Regions from separate parts of the Homo sapiens genome. Here all the other regions are linked to region 3. Evidence: promoter capture Hi-C in 16 types of primary human blood cells and fetal thymus (Javierre and others, 2016). All regions are on one chromosome and are shown on one strand. Each heading gives the region's core, a stretch centred on a gene start or on the middle of the fragment in contact. The rest is flanking DNA. Distances are from core to core; before and after follow the strand shown.

Region 1 (3,062 bases), core at 4-2,503, 120 kb before region 3:
GAGGAGCCCACAGCCTAGTGGAAAAGACTGACACAAACAAATCATTACAAATACAATGTGATAAGTGCTATAGCGTAAGTAAGACAAAGTGCCAAAGCACCACTGAGAAGGGAGTGTCTCAGTCTGCTTGGAGTTATCAGGGAAAGTTTCACAGACAAGGGAACATTTGAATTGGGCCTTAAAAGATTAATAGGAGTTTACTAAGTAGGTACTATGGCAGGGGGTGGGGAGAACTTTATAGGTGGAACAATGTGTTCAAAGACACAGAAGTAGAACACAAAGTATGTTCCAGAGCAAATGGAAGTTGTTGGGGAGTTGAGGCTCCAGAAGTGTAGCAAGGGGGATTATATTGTGAAGGACTTTAAAAGGCATGCTAAGACCTTTGGACCTTAACCTGCGGGTAATAGGAGTCATCAGTTTAAGGAAAAGGAAGTAACATCAAATTTGTATAACTTAGGACAATGTGGGACACATGATGAGGATATCAACAGGGACTTGTCAGGAGTGGGGAAAATAAAGGGACATAAAGAGGTAAGGAGGTTAGATGAATAATGAATGGAGATGTCTGGTAGAGGAAAGAGGAAGAATACATATTAGATGGGGCAGGAAAGGAGGAAAAAATGGATTTGGATTTGGCTTTGGACAAGTTAAATTTAATGTATCTATGATACATCTAACCAGCAAGCAGATAATATGCAATAACATTGTAAACAAATTAATTTTTTACTTCAGCAAATATTTATCATAAGTACAAAAACAACTAAGATATGGTCCCTTCCTTCAAGGAGATCAGTCTAGTAGGAAACCTAAAACAGGTAAAACAGGCAATCATAGTGTAATATGAAAAGTGCTATGCTAGGCAACCGCAGGGTTTTTCTAGGACTTGGGTAGAGGTGGGGAGGGAGGAGAGCTGGCTAGAGAAGGAAATTGAGCCTAATATGAATAGGAATTAGCTAAACGAATAAGAAAGCAATGGGCATTCCAGAGACTAGGAAGAGCCTATATGAAGACACAGGCATGAAACACTTCACAGGCATGAAACGCTTTCAGAGAACACACGTAGCTCAGTGTGACTGGAGATTTTTTGATTGATCCATGTAAGATCTATAATTCATGTGATAGAAATGACTTAAAGAGGTAGGTAAATACCAAATCATGAAGGGCCTGAAAGTTCTGGGCGGTCATTGAATGAGAATAGTATGACCAGATTTACATTTTAGAAAGATTGTCCTGTGCCCCAAAAGAAAAATGGGCAAAGGCATGAACTAATTTACAAAAGAAATGTAAATGGCCAATATATCATATGAAAAAATAACTTCCAGCCGGGCGCGGTGGCTCATGCCTAAAATCCCAGCACTTTGGGAGGCCGAGGCAGGCAGATCACAAGGTCAAGAGATCTAGACCATCCTGGCCAACATGGTGAAACCCTGTCTCTACTAAAAATACAAAAATTAGCTGGGCCTGGTCACACCTGTAGTCCCAGCTACTCAGGAGGCTGAGGCAGGAGAATCGCTTGAACCCAGGAGGCAGAGGTTGCAGTGAGCCGAGATCGTGCCACTGTACTCCAGCCTGGTGACAGAGCAAGACTCAGTCTCAAAATGATAATAAAAATAATAACAACAATAATAGTAACTCCCCTAATAAACGCAGTAAAACCACGAAGTGCAATTTTTTTACCTATCATATTGGTGATTAAAGTGAATGATAATGCCTAGTGTTTGGAAAGGCTATGAGGAAAAAGACATTCTCAAACTACTGGTGGTAATGTCGATTGATAGAAATGGGGTGGTTTGGAGAGAGGCTTATTTATTTATCATCATAAATAAAAACATTTAAAAACGTGCATCCCCTTTGGCCCAAAAAATCCACATCTAGGAAATTATTTTATGGGAATAATTAACACACCATCAAGATGTTTGTGTAAGGATGTTTTATGACAGCATTGTTTCTAATAGTGGAATAATTGGAGACAGCTTAAATGTCCTAGTGAGAGACTGTTAAGTCATGTTACAGCCATGTGTGGAATACCATGTAGCTATTAAAATTATGCTATAGACGTTATGTTTATTGACATGGAAAGATGTTCATTATAATCATTAGTGAAGAGGGCAGATTTCCTGGAGAGTATGTAGAGTATCCCAATTTTGTAAATTAAAAAAAATGTTTAAGCATCTAAAGTTCACAAAAAATTTTGGAAGGTAATATACCAAAAGATTATCTCTGGATGATGGAGTTATTGATTTTTTTAAATTTTTTTCTGGTGTATATTCTAATTTTTTTAACCAGTGAACGTGCATTACTTGTGTGATTTTTTTTTCAAGTAAAATTAAGAATAAACAAACAAACAAAAAAATAAAGAGCACTCTGGCAGAAGTGTGAAGAAGTAATTGGAGGAGAGCAAGACTGGCGGCATGACGACTTATTTCAGTAGTGCAGGCCAGAGATAACAAAGGACTAAGCCAAGGTAGGCAGAGTAGGGATGGAAAGGAGGGGATAGAGACAAGATATATTGAAGAGAGAATCTTCAGGACTATTGACTAATTGGATACTGTAAGTGGTAGATGAAACCATGAGGCTGTCAGAGCATTTATGGTCATGTAAGATGGCAGTGTGTTGTTCAGGTGTAAGGGAGTTTCTTCCATTCAGGTTCTTGTGTATATGACGTTGGCAAGTTGATGTTTTTGAACAGGGTCATTTTTCTCTCAGGGACATGTAGAATAGTCCAGAACCAGTCACTTTAGTGTCCAGGGGAGGTGAGATGGGCTGATCCTTTGGTGGCACTGAGAATGGGAATGGTCAGGTAGAGGATGGTGTCCGAGCTTGAGAGATGACATGTTTCTCTTCTCAGTTATGGGAGCTATGAGGAGCCTGATCCCAAGTCGAACACCCAAGACACAAGCTTCAGCAGCATCGGTGGGTATGAGGTATCAGAGGAGGAAGAAGATGAGGAGGAGGAAGAGCAGCGCTCTGGGCCGAGCGTACTAAGCCAGGTCCACCTGTCAGAGGACGAGGAGGACAGTGAGGATTTCCACTCCATTGCTGGGGACAGTGACTTGGACTCT
Region 2 (3,007 bases), core at 170-2,669, 99 kb before region 3:
TGTGTTAAAAAATATAAACTTTTGAAGCCGGGCACGGTGGCATACGCCTGTAATTCCAGCACTTTGGGAGGCCGAGGCAGGTGGATCACTCGAGGTCAGGAGTTCGAGACCAGCCTGACCAACATGGTGAAACCCCATCTCTACTAAAAATACAAAAATTAGCTGGGCATGGTAGCACATACATGTAATCCCAGCTTCTCGGGAGGCTAAGGCAGGAGACTCACTTGAGCGCAGGAGGCAAAGGCTGCAGTGAGCCGAGATCACACCATTGCCCTCCAGCCTGGGTGATAGAGCAAGACTCTGTTTCTAAATAAATAAATAAACTTTTGTTCATCATAAGACATCATTTTAAAAGGTGATGGGCTGGCAGAAGATGTTTCCAATTCATATAACTGATAAAGAATAACTATCCTGGGCCAGGCATGGTGGCTGAGGCCGGCAGATCACCTGAGGTCAGGAGTTCGAGACTAGCCCAGCCAACATGGTGAAACCCTATCTCTACAAAAAATACAAAAAAATTAGCTGGGCGTGGTGGTGGGTGCCTGTAATCCCAGCTACTTGGGAGGCTGAGGCAGGAGAATTGCTTGAATTCGGGAGGTGGAGGTTGCAGTGAGCCAAGATCACGCCACTGCACTCCAGCCTGGGCAACAAGAGTGAACCCCCTTCTCAAAAAAAGAATAACTATCCTGGCCAACTGCGGTGGCTCATGCCTGTAATCTCAATGCTTTGGGGGCCGAGGTAGGAGGATCACTTGAGCCCAGGAGTTCGAGGCTGCAGTGAGCTATGATCATACCACTGCACTCCTCCAGCCTAGGTGATAGAGCAAGACCTTGTCTCAAACAAACAAACAAACAAACAAACAAAAACAAGAGAATCCTGGCCAAGTGCGATGGCTCACACCTGTAATCTCAGCATCCCAGAACTTTGACAGGCAGAGATGGGAGGATTGCTTGAGTCCACGAGTTTGAGACCAGACTGGGTAACATAGGGAGGTCTATCTTTAGCAAAAATTCTTTTTAAATTCTGAAAAAAAATATGTAAGACAATATATCGGTAAGAAAAAGACAAGCCATCCAATGAAAACTGACCAAAAAACATAAAGCAGCATTTCACAGAAGAGAAAACAGGAATAGCCAATAAACGTGAAAATGTTGGCCAGGCTGGTCTTGAACTCCTGACCTCAGGTGATCCGCCCGCCTTGGCCTCCCAAAGTGCTGGGATTACAGGCGTGAGCCACTGCACCTAGCTGACTTAATCAGCAATTCTACCCCTAGGTATATATGCTAGAAAAATTCTTGCACCACCGTACCAGAAGACATGTACAAGAATTCAAGAGTGTTAATAGCTGCACTGATCTTTATAGCAAAAAGTTGAAAATAGCTCAAATGTTCTTCAATAAGAGAATGGTTTAGTAAATTATGGTATTATTATAAAAGGGAAAACTATACATTGGTAAAAATACCTACAGATACAAATATCAACATAGATGAGTCCCACGAACATAATGTGGAAGGAAAGTTCAGAAAAATTCATATGATATGATTCTATGTATATAAGGTTCAAAAACACGGGTGAGAAAGCCATAAAGAAAAGTATAATTACTGGCCAGACATGATGGCTCATGCCTGTAATCCCAGCACTTTGGAAGGCCAAGGCAGGAGGATCACTTGAGGCCAGGAGTTCAAGATCAGCCTGGGCAATATGGCAAAGCCCAATTGCTACTAAAAATACAAAAATTAGCCGGGCGTGGTGGCGCATGCCTGCAGTCCTAGCTACTTGGGAGGCTGAGACAGGAGAATCTCTTGAACCCGGGAGGTGGAGGTTGCAGTGAACTGAGATCACGCCACTCCACTCCAGTCTGGGTGATGGAGTGAGACTCTGTCTCAAAAAATAAATAAACAAAAAGAAAAAAAAGTACAATTCCTAATAGCAGTTATATCTTGCAGGGAAGGAAAGGAATGCAATTCAGAAGGGTATCCAGAGAGCTTCAGAGGCTCTGGTAATGTTCTGGTTTGTAAGCTGATTGGTGGGCACTTAGATGTTCATTTTCTTATTCTTTAAATTATATATGAGATTTTTATCTACCATAAATGTCAGATATACTTTTGTATTTGTGATATATTTCATAAAAGTTTTTAAGCTGAAAAAAAAGTGACTGGAAGGTGAGAAAGCAGCTAGGCTATCAGGGGAAGGAGAATGATAGTAATAGCTAAAGGGAGAAATGGGATAACCAGAAAATTTTTAAAAGACCTATGAGGCCGGCTGTGGTGGCTCATGCCTGTAATCCCAGCACTTTGGGAGGCCCAGGTGGGAGGATCTCTTGAGCCCAGGAATTTTAGACCAGCCTGGGCAACATAGCGAGACCATGTCTCTGTGAAAAATCAAAAAATTATCTGGGCATGGTGGTGTGCACCTGCAGTCCTAGCTACTTGGGAGGCTGATGTGGGAGGATCACTTGAGCCCAGGAGTTTGAGGCTGCAGTGAACCATGACTGTATCACTGCACTCCAGCCTGGGCAACAGACTGAGACTGTCTCAAAAAACAAAACCAAAAACAAAACTAGCCAGACATGGTGGCATATACCTGTAGTCCCAGCTACTCGGGAGGCTGAGGCAAGAGGATCCCTTGAGCCCAGGAGTTTGAGGTTGCAGTGGGCTATGATCGCACCACTGCACCCCACCATGGATCCTGTCTCTTAAAAAAAGAGAAAGACTTATGAGCATGTTTACAGCCTTGATTCATTCAACAAACATTTATTGAATTCCCACTATGTACCCGGTAGTATGCTGGGCCTTGGGGTACAGAGATATATTTATTCAATTATGTAGTTACCCATTCTTCTAAAAGCCAGAAATAATTCATATATTCATTCAATAAATATTTATTAAGTGAATACTACGTACCAAGATTAATCTAAGTGCTGGAAATACAGCATTGAACAAAAGTCCTTTCATGGAGGTGGAGAGAGGCAATAAATATCTGTGAGGTGGTGATAAGTACTATAAAG
Region 3 (2,964 bases), core at 178-2,677:
GTAATCCCCATTCTTATAAAGAGGCTTGTAGAGGTTAATTTGCAACTTCATTGTAGAGAGAGAGAGTAATCAGCCCCCTTTATCCAATTTTTTTATCAACTGAGAAAGTATCTGTATTTAGGTAGGCAATCTGGTGCTTAAGAGCAGGTTTTGGAACTAGAGTTGGAGTTTGAATCTCAGCTCTGCCACTTTTTTTTTTTTTTTTGAGATGGAGTCTCGCCCTGTCCCCATGCTGGAGTGCAATGGCACGATCTCGGCTCACTGCAACCTCCGCCTCCCAGGTTCCAGCGATTCTCCTGCCTCAGCCTCCCGAGTAGCTGGGATTACAGGCGCGGGCCACCACACGCGGCTATTTTTTTTTTTTTATCTTTAGTAGAGACGGGGTTTCACCATGTTGACCAGGCTGGTCTCAAGCTCCTGACTTCGTGATCCACCCGCCTCAGCCTCCCAAAGTGCTGGGGTTACAGGCGTGAGCCACTGTGCCCGGCCAGCTCTGCCACTTTCTAGCTGTGTGATCTCTAAAATGAGAGTGCTAACAGTTGCCTACTTTTTAAAGTGTTGTATGAATTAAGTCGTAAGACACTTGGAATAATGCTTAGCACAAAATAGTATCAAACGCAGGGACATTTTATGTGTGTTCTGTTACCCAAAGGCATACATTACGAAATATATAGATGCTCGCTGGAGAAACTGGCACAATCTAGAAAGCGCTGTTTTCCCCGTTTGTTTTTCTTGGTGTGTATGGAGTGAGTGCCAAAAAGCCTCAAGTAACCTTTTTTTATCTCCAGGGTTTGGAGGGTTCTGGAAGTAAACATCATAGTTCGCCGTTGCCAGGCGCTGTTGAGTTGCTGCCTTGCTCTTATCTAGGGGTCTAGATGGCCTTCCCTGCAACCCCCGCCCCCCTGCGCTCCCGCGTCCCCCCGCGCCCCGCCCTCCCCTCGGTGTTCCCGTCCACGCCCCTGCTCCCGCGCCTTCGCTCCAGTTCTCGTGCCCCCGCCCCTCCCCCCGCGCCCTTTCCCAGTGGTTGCAATAACGGACTTAGAGGTCTGGACAATTCAAGTAAGGAACAAGGCTCGCTTATCCAAGTTCTCGCAGGATAAAAGTTTGTTATGAACGATTTCACATGGTTTCTCTTTATCAGAAAGTTGTTAGGGACTTTTAATCGCAGAATTGGCCTCGGGTGCCCACGCTCTAGTATTGAAATGGCGGTTTTGGGACAAATAAGCAACATCCGTGGGAGTGGAAAGCGACAGACCTGATCCCGGAAGCGTTACAGCTAGGCGCCAAGTTCACAGGCGCGAAGTTCAAATTTGTCTTGTGACCACTGTGATAGGTGGGTACAGGGGAGCGCGGGCGAGCACACGTGAATTACTGCTACCGCCCCCTAGGTCCGGGCACTATAAAGGGGCCTGCGCCTGGCGTTGTTCATCGCAGTTGCTCCGGATCTTTGCACACACTCCACGGGCAGTTGGAGGTGAGCTGCTGCCGGCCACGCCAGAGGCTGCAACACCAGGTAGGTGACCGGCTGGTCGGACTGAGATGGGTGCTGAAGTGGTCCAGAGGTTAATCCTAATTGAGTGACTTAATTAAAATCAGGACCACTGTATACCTTGGACTCTGGTTGCCCGTGTAGGCCTGAGGTGGGAGTAGAGGAAGTGGCAGCGAGGGGAGAAGTGGAGGCGCCAGTGGTAGCATTGGGGGAGGTGGGGGCGCCCATGGTGGTGTAGGAAACATATGGTGGCGCCAGTGGCGGCATTGGGAGGGGTGGGGGCGCCGGTGGCGGCGTAGGAGCAGCTGGTAGTGCCAGTGGCGGCGTGGGGAGAAGGGGCGCTGGTGGCGTCATTGCAGATAGTGGGGGGCCTGGTGGTGGCGTAGAAGGAGGTGTTGGTGCCAGTGGCGGGTGGAGAGAAGTAGGGGCACCAGTGGCGGCGTTGGGGGAAGTGGGGGTGCCTGTGGCAGTGTCGGGGAAGTGGGGGTGCTGGTGGTGGTGTAGGAGCATGTGGTAGCACCAGTGACGGTGTGGGGAGAAGTAGGGGCACCATTGGCGGCCTTGGGGGAAGTGGGAGCGCTGGTGGTGGCGTAGGAGCGTGTGGTGGCGCCAGTGGCTATGTAGGAATACGTGGCGCCGGTGGCGGCGCGGGGAGAAGTGAGGGCGCTGGTTGCGGCACTGGGGGGAGGTGGGGGCCCCAGTGGTGGTGTAGGAACAGGTGGTGTCCCTAGTGGCGGGTGGGGAGAAGTAGGGATGCCAGTGGCAGCGTGGGGGGAGGTGGGGGTGCCAGTTGCGGCCTAGGAGTACTTGGTGGCGTTGGTGGCATAGGAGCACATAGTAGCGCTGGCGGTGTGGGGAGAAGTGGAGGCGCCGGTGGCCGCATTGAAGGTGGGGGTGCCAATGGGGGCGTTGAGGGAAGTGGGGGGTTCTGGTGGCGGCGTAGGAACACTTGGTGGTGGTGGAAGTGGCCTAGGAGCACGTGGTGGTGCTGGTGGGCGTGGGGAGAAGTGAGGATGCTGGTGGTGGCATTGGAGGTGGGGGTGCCAGTGGCTGTGGGGAGAAGTGGGGGTGCCCGTTGCAGCATTGGGGGGAGGTGGGAGCTAGTGGTTGTGGGTAGGGGTGTGTGTGTGGGGGTTGAGGTCTCTTTGGCTGAGGACTGAGTGGTGGTGGGAGACAGGAGTGGGGTAGGGCAGAAGTTGGATAGAAGTGTGGGGGAGTGGAAGCCTGCTTGGAAAACCGGTTGGGAGCAGTTGAAGGTGGCTGGAGGTGGTTGGAGGTGCGAGTGTGGGGGAAGGGTGGTGGGGTTGAGGCCTGATTGGTGGAAGACTGAGGTGAGAATGGTGGGGGTAGGGTCCAGACCTGATAGGAGGAAGGAGTTGGGGAGGGGTCAAGGCCTGTTTGGTCGAAGATTGGCTAGAGGCTGGAGGCAGGAATAGGAAGCGTGGAGGGGGTGGCCGGATTCATATAAGACCAGT

Evidence for each region. Contacts are between HindIII fragments. The CHiCAGO score rates a contact against its expected background, and 5 or more counts as called.
Region 1: a fragment that was not itself captured here is called in contact with the fragment with the promoter of GCNA in region 3 in 9 of 17 cell types (activated CD4 T cells, non-activated CD4 T cells, total CD8 T cells and 6 more); the score reaches 8.5 in activated CD4 T cells.
Region 2: a contact is called between a fragment that was not itself captured here and the fragment with the promoter of GCNA in region 3, in 2 of 17 cell types (activated CD4 T cells and naive CD8 T cells). The highest score is 7.1, in activated CD4 T cells.

The regions. Positions count from the first base shown.
Region 1 is chrX:71,460,976-71,464,037 of GRCh38, forward strand. TAF1 (TATA-box binding protein associated factor 1) reads left to right here. Exons shown (of 38, transcript NM_004606.5): 38 at 2,849-3,062. Among named protein-coding and RNA genes, the nearest start is that of OGT, 71 kb to the right of the region's middle. The HindIII fragment of the contact is 3,288 bases long and covers 1-2,897 here.
Region 2 is chrX:71,477,687-71,480,693 of GRCh38, forward strand. It overlaps a transcript of TAF1 not described here. Among named protein-coding and RNA genes, the nearest start is that of OGT, 54 kb to the right of the region's middle. The HindIII fragment of the contact is 6,178 bases long and covers 1-3,007 here.
Region 3 is chrX:71,577,010-71,579,973 of GRCh38, forward strand. It overlaps GCNA (germ cell nuclear acidic peptidase), which reads left to right and starts at 1,428. Exons shown (of 13, transcript NM_052957.5): 1 at 1,428-1,513. RefSeq lists an enhancer at 1,635-2,276. The HindIII fragment of the contact is 6,206 bases long and covers 1-2,964 here.